Regions from separate parts of the Homo sapiens genome. Here all the other regions are linked to region 1. The links are contacts of gene promoters, found by promoter capture Hi-C in blood cells and fetal thymus (Javierre and others, 2016). All regions are on one chromosome and are shown on one strand. The core of a region is centred on a gene start or on the middle of the fragment in contact, and the rest is flanking DNA. Distances in the headings are between cores, read along the strand shown. Region 1 holds the start of SARDH (sarcosine dehydrogenase). Region 2 has its middle 12 kb from the start of VAV2. Region 3 has its middle 3.9 kb from the start of BRD3OS.

Evidence for each region. Contacts are between HindIII fragments. The CHiCAGO score rates a contact against its expected background, and 5 or more counts as called.
Region 2: a contact is called between a fragment that was not itself captured here and the fragment with the promoter of SARDH in region 1, in 1 of 17 cell types (endothelial precursors). The highest score is 5.3, in endothelial precursors.
Region 3: a contact is called between a fragment that was not itself captured here and the fragment with the promoter of SARDH in region 1, in 1 of 17 cell types (endothelial precursors). The highest score is 5.1, in endothelial precursors.

The regions. Positions count from the first base shown.
Region 1 is chr9:133,736,863-133,739,671 of GRCh38, reverse strand. It overlaps SARDH (sarcosine dehydrogenase), which reads left to right and starts at 1,320. Exons shown (of 21, transcript NM_001134707.2): 1 at 1,320-1,418. The HindIII fragment of the contact is 9,698 bases long and covers 1-2,809 here.
Region 2 is chr9:134,003,357-134,006,108 of GRCh38, reverse strand. No RefSeq gene overlaps it. Among named protein-coding and RNA genes, the nearest start is that of VAV2, 12 kb to the right of the region's middle. The HindIII fragment of the contact is 1,864 bases long and covers 415-2,278 here.
Region 3 is chr9:134,020,187-134,022,886 of GRCh38, reverse strand. No RefSeq gene overlaps it. Among named protein-coding and RNA genes, the nearest start is that of BRD3OS, 3.9 kb to the left of the region's middle. The HindIII fragment of the contact is 3,675 bases long and covers 1-2,700 here.

The sequences.
Region 1 (2,809 bases), core at 71-2,570:
CCAGCTTTCCACTGGGCAGCCAGGGGCCTAAGCCAGTGGGCCCTTTGCCTTTGAGGCAGGGACTGAGAATGGTGTCAGCACGTGGTCAGGCCCAGAGCCCAGGCCCCCTCCTCTAAGAGGTCCTCCTGGATTCCCTGCTGGAAGGAAGCCAGCCTTGTGGTGTCGTGTCTCTCCCTGGATCTGTCTGCTTCGTGGACCCTGAGCCCCTCGAGGGCAGGGGCTGGGTCTTAGATGTCACTATAGGTTTCCCAGCAGTGCTTTGTACACATTGGGCATTCAGTAAATGTAGAGGATAGACAAGCTGGCAACAAGACAGTCGGACATCCTCGGTGTGAATAAGAACACAATGATTTGATTGGTATTAATTACAGCAGTTTACTATACGATCGCTTCCGGTATTGGCAGCTGGCATCATTACAATATTAACAGACTGCCATTGAAATGCCCCGTCTTTGATCCAGCGCGAGGAGGAGATGTGACTTTCCATCAGCACCTGTTCTGATTCTTTGGGCATCCAGAGGTGTATTCTTTCTGGGTTTCCTCCACACCCCTCCTCTGGGTGTCTACTTCTGTCTGGGAAGGGGTAACTTGCCCCAGCCCAGAGTCAGGCTGCAGCATCCGGTCTGCCTCCTCCACCAGCTTGCTGTGTGGCCCCCTCCCTGGGCACTGCTGTCCCCAACAGTCAATGGAGGCTGGAATCCCTGCCCTGGGGGCTACGTGCTGTGCAGTAGCCAGTGGCTTGGGGGCATCTCCCCAAACACCAGAGGGGTCTGGGAGCTCGGGAAAGCAGGACGCAGACAGACCAGGAGACCCTGTCCCTGGGAAGCTGACCCAGGCCTTCTCACTCGCCTCTGAAGGCAGTGAGCATCCTGTCCCTGGGGGTGAGCAAACTGGGGCATGTGCTGAGATGACCTCACCAAAGGAGCCTCCCTGCAGTGGACGGGCCCCTGGCCCAAGCTGCTGCTGACCCCACCTTTCCTGCCCACCCTGCCTGTGCATAGCTCCTTCTGGGCGCGGGGAGCTCGGGCGGCTCCAGCAGGCAGGTGGTGCCTGGGTCTACTGCAGCAACCCTGAGGCGCCTGTTTCAGAGACGAGGAAATGAGGGTTGGAGCGGAAGGGTGACTGCCAGGTCGCCTACGGGTAATGGGGCATGGGGTTCACAACCCTGCTCTGCCGCCCTCAGAGGGAGCTGCCCACAGGGCTGGCCTAGAAGCCCCAACTAAGCTGGCCTAGAAGCCGCAGTGGTGGGCGGTACGCTCCGCCCAGATCCTGGGCGGAGACATGGGGCTGGCAGCGAGGGTGGGGGGCGGGGGAGGCCTGGAGTTCCGGCCAGGCCACTGCTTGGGAAGCAAGAAGGTGAAGGCACCTCTGCTGGGCCAAGCACTCTTAGGGCCGAGGGGCACTGCAGCTGACAAGAGGTACTTGGAGGTACACCCCCAGGGAGGGACGAGGCTGGGGCCTCCCCTATGTGGGCGGGGCTGGGCCTGGTCAGATCTGGCTGGGATCTCCCTCTGCCTCTGGCTGCAGGGACCATCCAGCTGCATGAGCAGGACCAGGGTTCACCATATGGGCAGCTGCCTCCCCGCCCCCTGCCGCTCCTCCCCACAAGTCTGCCTACCCTCACCAGGCGAAGGTGCCAGGCGCTCTCCTCGCTTGACCCCCACCACCCCCTGAGCCTGGGAGGAGGAGGGCGTTCCTGGGTCCTCTGCTTTGCAGTGAGGTTAAGTTGTTGCTCGAGGCCCCAGTCCTGTGACAAAACCCCCACCCATCTGTCTGATCCCAAGCCCAGGGCTGTCCTCAGCCCTCACTCCTGGGAAGCTGACTCAGGTACGAGACAGAGTTGGAGGGGGCAAGAGAGTGGGTTAATGTGGAGGCAGCTGTTTCCAGGGAGGTGGCAGGCAGGAGGGGCTCTGGGCTGTCCCCGCTGGGGCCGCTGCCAGCCCCCAGTCTGACAGTCAGAAGAGCCCTGACTGACCAGGCAGGTGGTGAAGGGGCACGTGGCAGCCTCCGGCGCCAGCAGCTGTCGCTTTTTGGGCACAGTCGGAAGGAGGAGGGAGGCTTTTGCCCACAGCTGACCAGGTGTGCTGTGCCATGCGGCACCGTGGTGGGTGGTGGGTGGTGGGGTGGGGGTGTTCAGCCTTGGAGGGCCTTCCTCGGTGCCACTCAAGCTGGCTTTCCCCTGGTGGGGCACCACTTTTGGGGGCTCCTGGAAGACTGTGGACCTTCAAGGACTGAAGGTATGTACAGACACATGCAGGAGGCATGCCTCCTTGTCCGGGGCCACCTCTGCAGGCAGGAGCCAGGCGGGCTGACACACTGAGGGCTGAGAGGCTGAGGACAAGCTCCAACACCTCCTCACTCCCCTACGCCGCTGCAATCAGACTCCCTGCTCCCTCCCTTGGGATGGGGCACTGGGGCAGGAGATGGGGGGCAGCCCTGACCAGCCTGAGAGCTGGGATCCCCCTCACATCCCCCACTGTGCCTAGGACAGGGTTCTGGGCTTCGTCAGGGCTTGGGCAGTGCCCACAGTTCAGGTGGGACAGAGTGTGGCAGTGGGTCCTGAGTCCCCCTGGGATGGTCAGAAGAGGGGGCAGGAGAGAGTCCCTGGCACTGCCACATGGAGGCCCTATGACCCTGGTCACCTCAGGGAGCCTCTCCGTGTGTCAGACTCCCCCGCTGTGAAGTAGAGACATTATCATGTGTCTATAGGTGTTCAATGAGAGTGAACGAACGTGCATAGCTATGGTCCACTCTTGAAAAAGGATGCTGACTTTCTTAGATAATTATATCAGTCATTCATACTGACGTA
Region 2 (2,752 bases), core at 97-2,596, 270 kb before region 1:
TTTTCTTTTTTTTGAGACAGAGTCTCACTCTGTTGCCTAAGCTAGAGTGCAGTGGTGCGATCTTGGCTCATGCAGCTTCTGCCTCCAGGTTCCAGTGATTCTCCTGCCTCAGCTTCCCAAGTAGCTGGGATTACAGCCTGACTATTTTTTTGCATTTTTAGTAGAGACGGGGTTTCACCATGTTGGCCAGGCTGGTCTCGAACTCCTGACCTCAGGTGATCCGCCTGTCTTGGCTCTCTAAAGTGCTGGGATTACAGGCATGAGCCACTACACCGGGCCAGGCCCAGAGGTTTCAGAGGGGTCACAAGGAGTATGACTTTCGGGTGTGTTGCCCTAGGTGTCCCCGACCTGAGTCTGTGGCCACACTGGGTCCCAGTCAGGGTCCTGCTGTTGACCAAAAATACTTGCTAAGCTTGTGAATCTGCCCTTCTCTGGAGCTCCTCAGCTTGGGCTGGGCCAGATCTCAGCTTTTTCTCCCCGACAGCCACCAGAGCTGAAAGCCTCTTTAGAGAAGCTGCCAAAGAGGTCCTCTGGCTTTCCTGCCTCACTGGAAAGGGTGATCAATGGCCCTCAGCTGCTCGCTGGCTTTCCTCAGCGCATTCAGGCCTCCCTGCAACAGCCATCCATGGCCACCCATCTAACGATGAGCCCCCAGCCGCTCAAAAGTCTGAGGCATCGCACCCACCAGTATGTTCCCTCCCATGGGCGTCTCATCCCAGCTCACCACTGGGGGAGGTTTTAGCGATTGCTCCCTTGTGCTAGGGACTCTCCGTGCCCACCTGCCCTCAGCAATGGGGTTCCTTAAGGTGAGCCAGCCCATAATAGCATGCAGGGGTTAGCGTCCTTGGGCTCCTCCAGGCACCAAGTGGTGGGAGCGGAGGGGAGGGGAGGGGGCAGGACGCCACTGGCTACTGGGGCATAGCAGGGTCCATTTCACCTGGAGAAGAGGCGGCAGGGCCAGGAAGCCAGCAGGTCCCTCCTGGGGCACGGCTGGCAGCACTGCTTGACCCTTTCGGGCCGTGGTAGCAGGAGGGCTGGGGACACAGCTGGGCATGGGTATGTGGGGATGGCGGCCATTGACAAAGGCCTGTTGCAAACGCAATGAGAACATCAGTGATCAGCACCTGGGCGCAGAGCTGGCCGGGTTCATGACACCCCGGGCTGCCAAGGCAGACAGATCATGAGGACCGTGATCTGCGATTTGGCCCTGGAGGGACAGAGAAGGGAAGCCGTGGGCTGGGGGAGGAGAAATAATAACGCAGTGCCTGGTGCAGCTCAAGTTAAATGTTCCACAGGAGGACACACCTGTGCTGGTGCACGTGCCTGTCACCGTGGGATGGCCCCATGTCCGGGTGGCAGTGGCGAGGGTGTGAGCAGGGGCCTCAGAGTGGCCACCTCCAGGCTCACATCTGAGGCAGCCAGGGCCTGGGAGGAGCCAGGCCAGCTGGGCCACACTCTGGGCCAAAGGTTCCCGGTGACAGACACAGAGGGGAGCTGTCCAGGCTGCACGTGACCTGCGGGGGCTGAGCATCCACTTCCCCACTGCCTGCCCTTTTTGTCGTGGGGCGCTGGGACCCTGGGTGGCCCCACTGGTGTTTGAGAGAAGCGGGTCCACCCTCTGCCGAGTAAGCCCATGGGAGCTTGGACCATTCAGGGAAGTGAAGATGGCTATGGGAGGGACTTCCTAGCGTCACGGCAGGCGAGCATGGAGCTCTGAGCTAGGACCCTGGAGGAGACTGCATGGGCCCTGAGCCAGGGGAGGGTCAGCTGTCCTCAGCGCTGGGCATGCGGCCATCTCAGCGCCCTGGGTACCTGCTGTGCCCATTTCACACAGAGGCCAGAGGCCAGAGTTTTGACTCGCCTGCCCAGGGCCTCAGAGTGACTGGGTGGAGCCCCTACTTGGGGAAGCCCCTGGCTCTCCTACAGACAGCCCCGAGCATGTGTGAGAGGCTGGGGAGGCCAGACCTTGGGGTTCTTCTCAAGGGGTTCCCAGTCTCAGGAGGCCATTCCTACCGGCCTCTCCCATCCTGGATGTGCCACAGTCACCACTGGGGTCTGAGATCAACATCTCCAGCCTGAGCCCACCCGTGGGCCCCACAGAAGCTGCAATCAGACCTTCACATTCTCCCACGGGATGGAGCCAAGAAATTCACCATGGCCCTAGCAGCAAAACCCACTTCTTTGGAGCCAGGATGAGCCTGGTGACCCTGGGAGAACACTTGCCTTGGAGACCTCTGATAGGTTCAGCACAGTTGCCACACAGCATCAACATGAAGCTTGGGGTGTGTGGTGGGATGGGAGGGGGCTCAGGGCATCTGCAGGTGTCTAACTCTGCTCAGAAACAACACAGCACCCTCTAGGACCCCTGGGACCTCCCTAGCAGACAAGAGGCCAGGGCAGCAGCCTCTGTTTCTCAGACACATCTGACACCTCCCTCCTGACACTGTGACAATCCTAGACTGGCTCTGCATCTCCCCAGGCCTTGCACAGGGTGGATGGATGGATGGATTGATGGATGGATGGATAAATGTACAGATGGATGGATGGATGGATGGATGGATGGATGGATAAATGTACGGATGGATGGATGGATGGATGGCTGGATACATGTACAGATGAATGGTGGATGGATGGTTGGGTAGGTGGATAGACACATGGGTGGATGGGTAGATGGGTGGATAAATGGGTGGATGAATGATGGATGGATGGATGAGTGGATGGGTAGAGGGTGGATGGATAGATGGAGGGCTGA
Region 3 (2,700 bases), core at 36-2,535, 280 kb before region 1:
TCCGCCTCCCAGGTTCAAGTGATTCTCCTGCCTCAGCCTCCCGAGTAGCTAGGGTTACAGGCATGTGCCACCATGCCTGGCTCATTTTGTATTTTTAGTGGAGACAGGGTTTCACTATGTTGATCAGGCTGGTCTCAAACTCCTGACCTCGTGATCCACCCGCCTCAGACTCCCAAAGTGCTAGGATTACAGGCATAAGCCACCGCACCTGGCTGCACAAAAGGTTTTTAAGGGTGAATGAGTGCCTGCCCATCTCCTTTCCTATCTGTCCTAAAACATTTAATTAGCTGTCTTTCAGTCTTTTGGCTCTAAGTCTCTTGGCCATAGGGATCCCACCAAGGGACAAGATGGACCCAGTGCAGGTAGCACACAGCCCCAGCAACGATATAGGACAAAATAAAAGTTTGGTCATCAATGCCATCTCTGGCAAATCTTGGCCAAAAGAAGGGAATATAAACTAAAAATAAAATCCTAAACTCCTCACTGACTGAACGGATCCCCTCTTGGCCAAGGGGACCTCAGAAAAAACTTAAAACTGAGTTCCCAGCCACGATGGGATAGGAGAGCCCACTCATGTCGTTATAACTCCTCCCTTTGGTGACTTAGAGACAAGGCACTAGCATTTGCGTTAAAATATGTAAGACTGAAAACATAGAAGACTGAAAAACAGACTCTTTATGGCGATAACATACCAAATTATAAATAAGACCTGTGGCTGGGCATGGTGACTCACATCTGTAATCCCAGCACTTTGAGAGTCCAAGGCGGGCAGATCACTTGAGGCTGAGAGTTCGAGACCAGCCTGGCCAACATGGTGAACCCCCATCTCTACAAAAAATACAAAAATTAGCTGGACATAGTGGCGCATGCCTGTAATCCCAGCTACTTGGGAGGCTGAGGCAGGAAAACCACTTGAACCCAGGAGGTGGAGGTTGCAGTGAGCCAAGATGGCACAACTGCACTCCAGTCTGGGTGACAAAGTGAGACTCTGATTCCAAAAATAAATAAATTAATTAATTAATAAGATTTAGGGCCATGCCAGGCACAAGTTAAGTCCTACACCTCTACAATTAAAGAATAAACTCTATTCTCACTGCCACGAGGTTGTTCCTTTTCTCTAGCAGCTAAGTAAGTACTGACCTCAAGATAAACAATGTTAAAACGATTTGCAGCTCATCCAGCTCCAGATGCTAACTGACCCCATTCACCCACCATAACTAGCTTTCTCTTCTTTTGAAACAGCGTCTCACTCTGTCCTCCAGGCTAGAGTGCAGTGGTGCAATCCTGGCTGAGTGCAGCTTCAACCTCCCAGCCTCAAGCAATCCTCCCACCTCAGCCTCCCAAGTAGCTGGGCCTACAGGTGTGCACCACTAGGTGTACCAGTAGGTCCACCCGGGAGGTGGAGTTTGCACCCAGCTACTTTTTGTATTTTTGGTAGAGATGGGGTTTTGCCATGTTGCCTAGGCTGATCTCAAATTCCTGGGCTTAAACAATCCTCCCATCGTGGCCTCCCAAAGTGCTGGGACTACAGGTGTGAGCCACTATGCCCAGCCAACTACAGCTTTCATTGAACAAGAGACTGATTTCAGCAACTTTCTCCAGGTAAGACCACTGACTATGGATTGGTTCCGGCTGGTTCAGAGAGGCTGCATACTTGTGTGCTTTTGTGTCCTGGAAAGACCTTTTTACTATAAGGCCTAATTTTATTTTATGTATGTATATATTTTTATTTATTTGAGACGGAGTCTCCCACTATTGCCCAGGCTGGAGTGCTGTGGTGCCATCTCGGCTCACTGCAACCTCCGCCTCCTGGGTTCAAGTGATTCTCCTGCCTCAGCCTCCCAAGTAGCTAAGACTACAGGTGTGCACCACGGTGCCCAGCTAGTTTTTTTTTTATTTTTAGTAGAGACTGGGTTTCACCGTATTGGCCAGACCTCAGCCTCCCAAAGTGCTGGGATTACAGGCGCGAGCCACTGCACCCAGCCTATAAGGCCTAATTTTAGTACATTTTGATGCTAAGTCTCCACCCCAAGGTGAACATGAGTTGTATGTTACATGCATGTTTGTTCAGTATGCATGTTGTCAGGACCTTCATGAATATTCATAGCTCCTCCTATAACCTGTTGAATGTGTATGTTTAGCCAACCTGTTCAGCATGGAGCTCCTGCCCCAACCCCTCCTCCTTCAGAGGCACATTTTCCAGCCTGTGGGATGGCCACCTTGCTGGCTGTAACCCTTTATGAGAAAGAAAGTCACCCAGGCGCAGTGGCTCACACCTGTAGTCCCAGCAATTTGGGAGGCCAAGGCGGGCAGATCACTTAAACTCAGGAGTTCAAGACCAGCCTGGCCAACATGGCAAAACCCCATTTCTACAAAAAGTACCTGGGCATGGTGAAAGGCACCTATAGTCCCAGCTACCTGGGAGGCTGAGGCAGGAGGGTTGCTTGAGCCCAGGAGGCAGCGGTCGCAGCGAGTCATGATTGCATCACTGTACTCCAGCCTGGGCAACAGAGTATTTATGGATATTGTGGGGTTCTTTTTTCAATTAACAGTACAAATTCAGGAGAATCTCAGACAAATTATTAAAATTAATAAGACAGGGCTGGGCGAGGTGGCTCACACCTGTAATCCTAGCACTTTGGGAGGCTGAGGCGGGTGGATCACGAGGTCAGGAGTTGGAGACCAGCCTGGCCAACATAG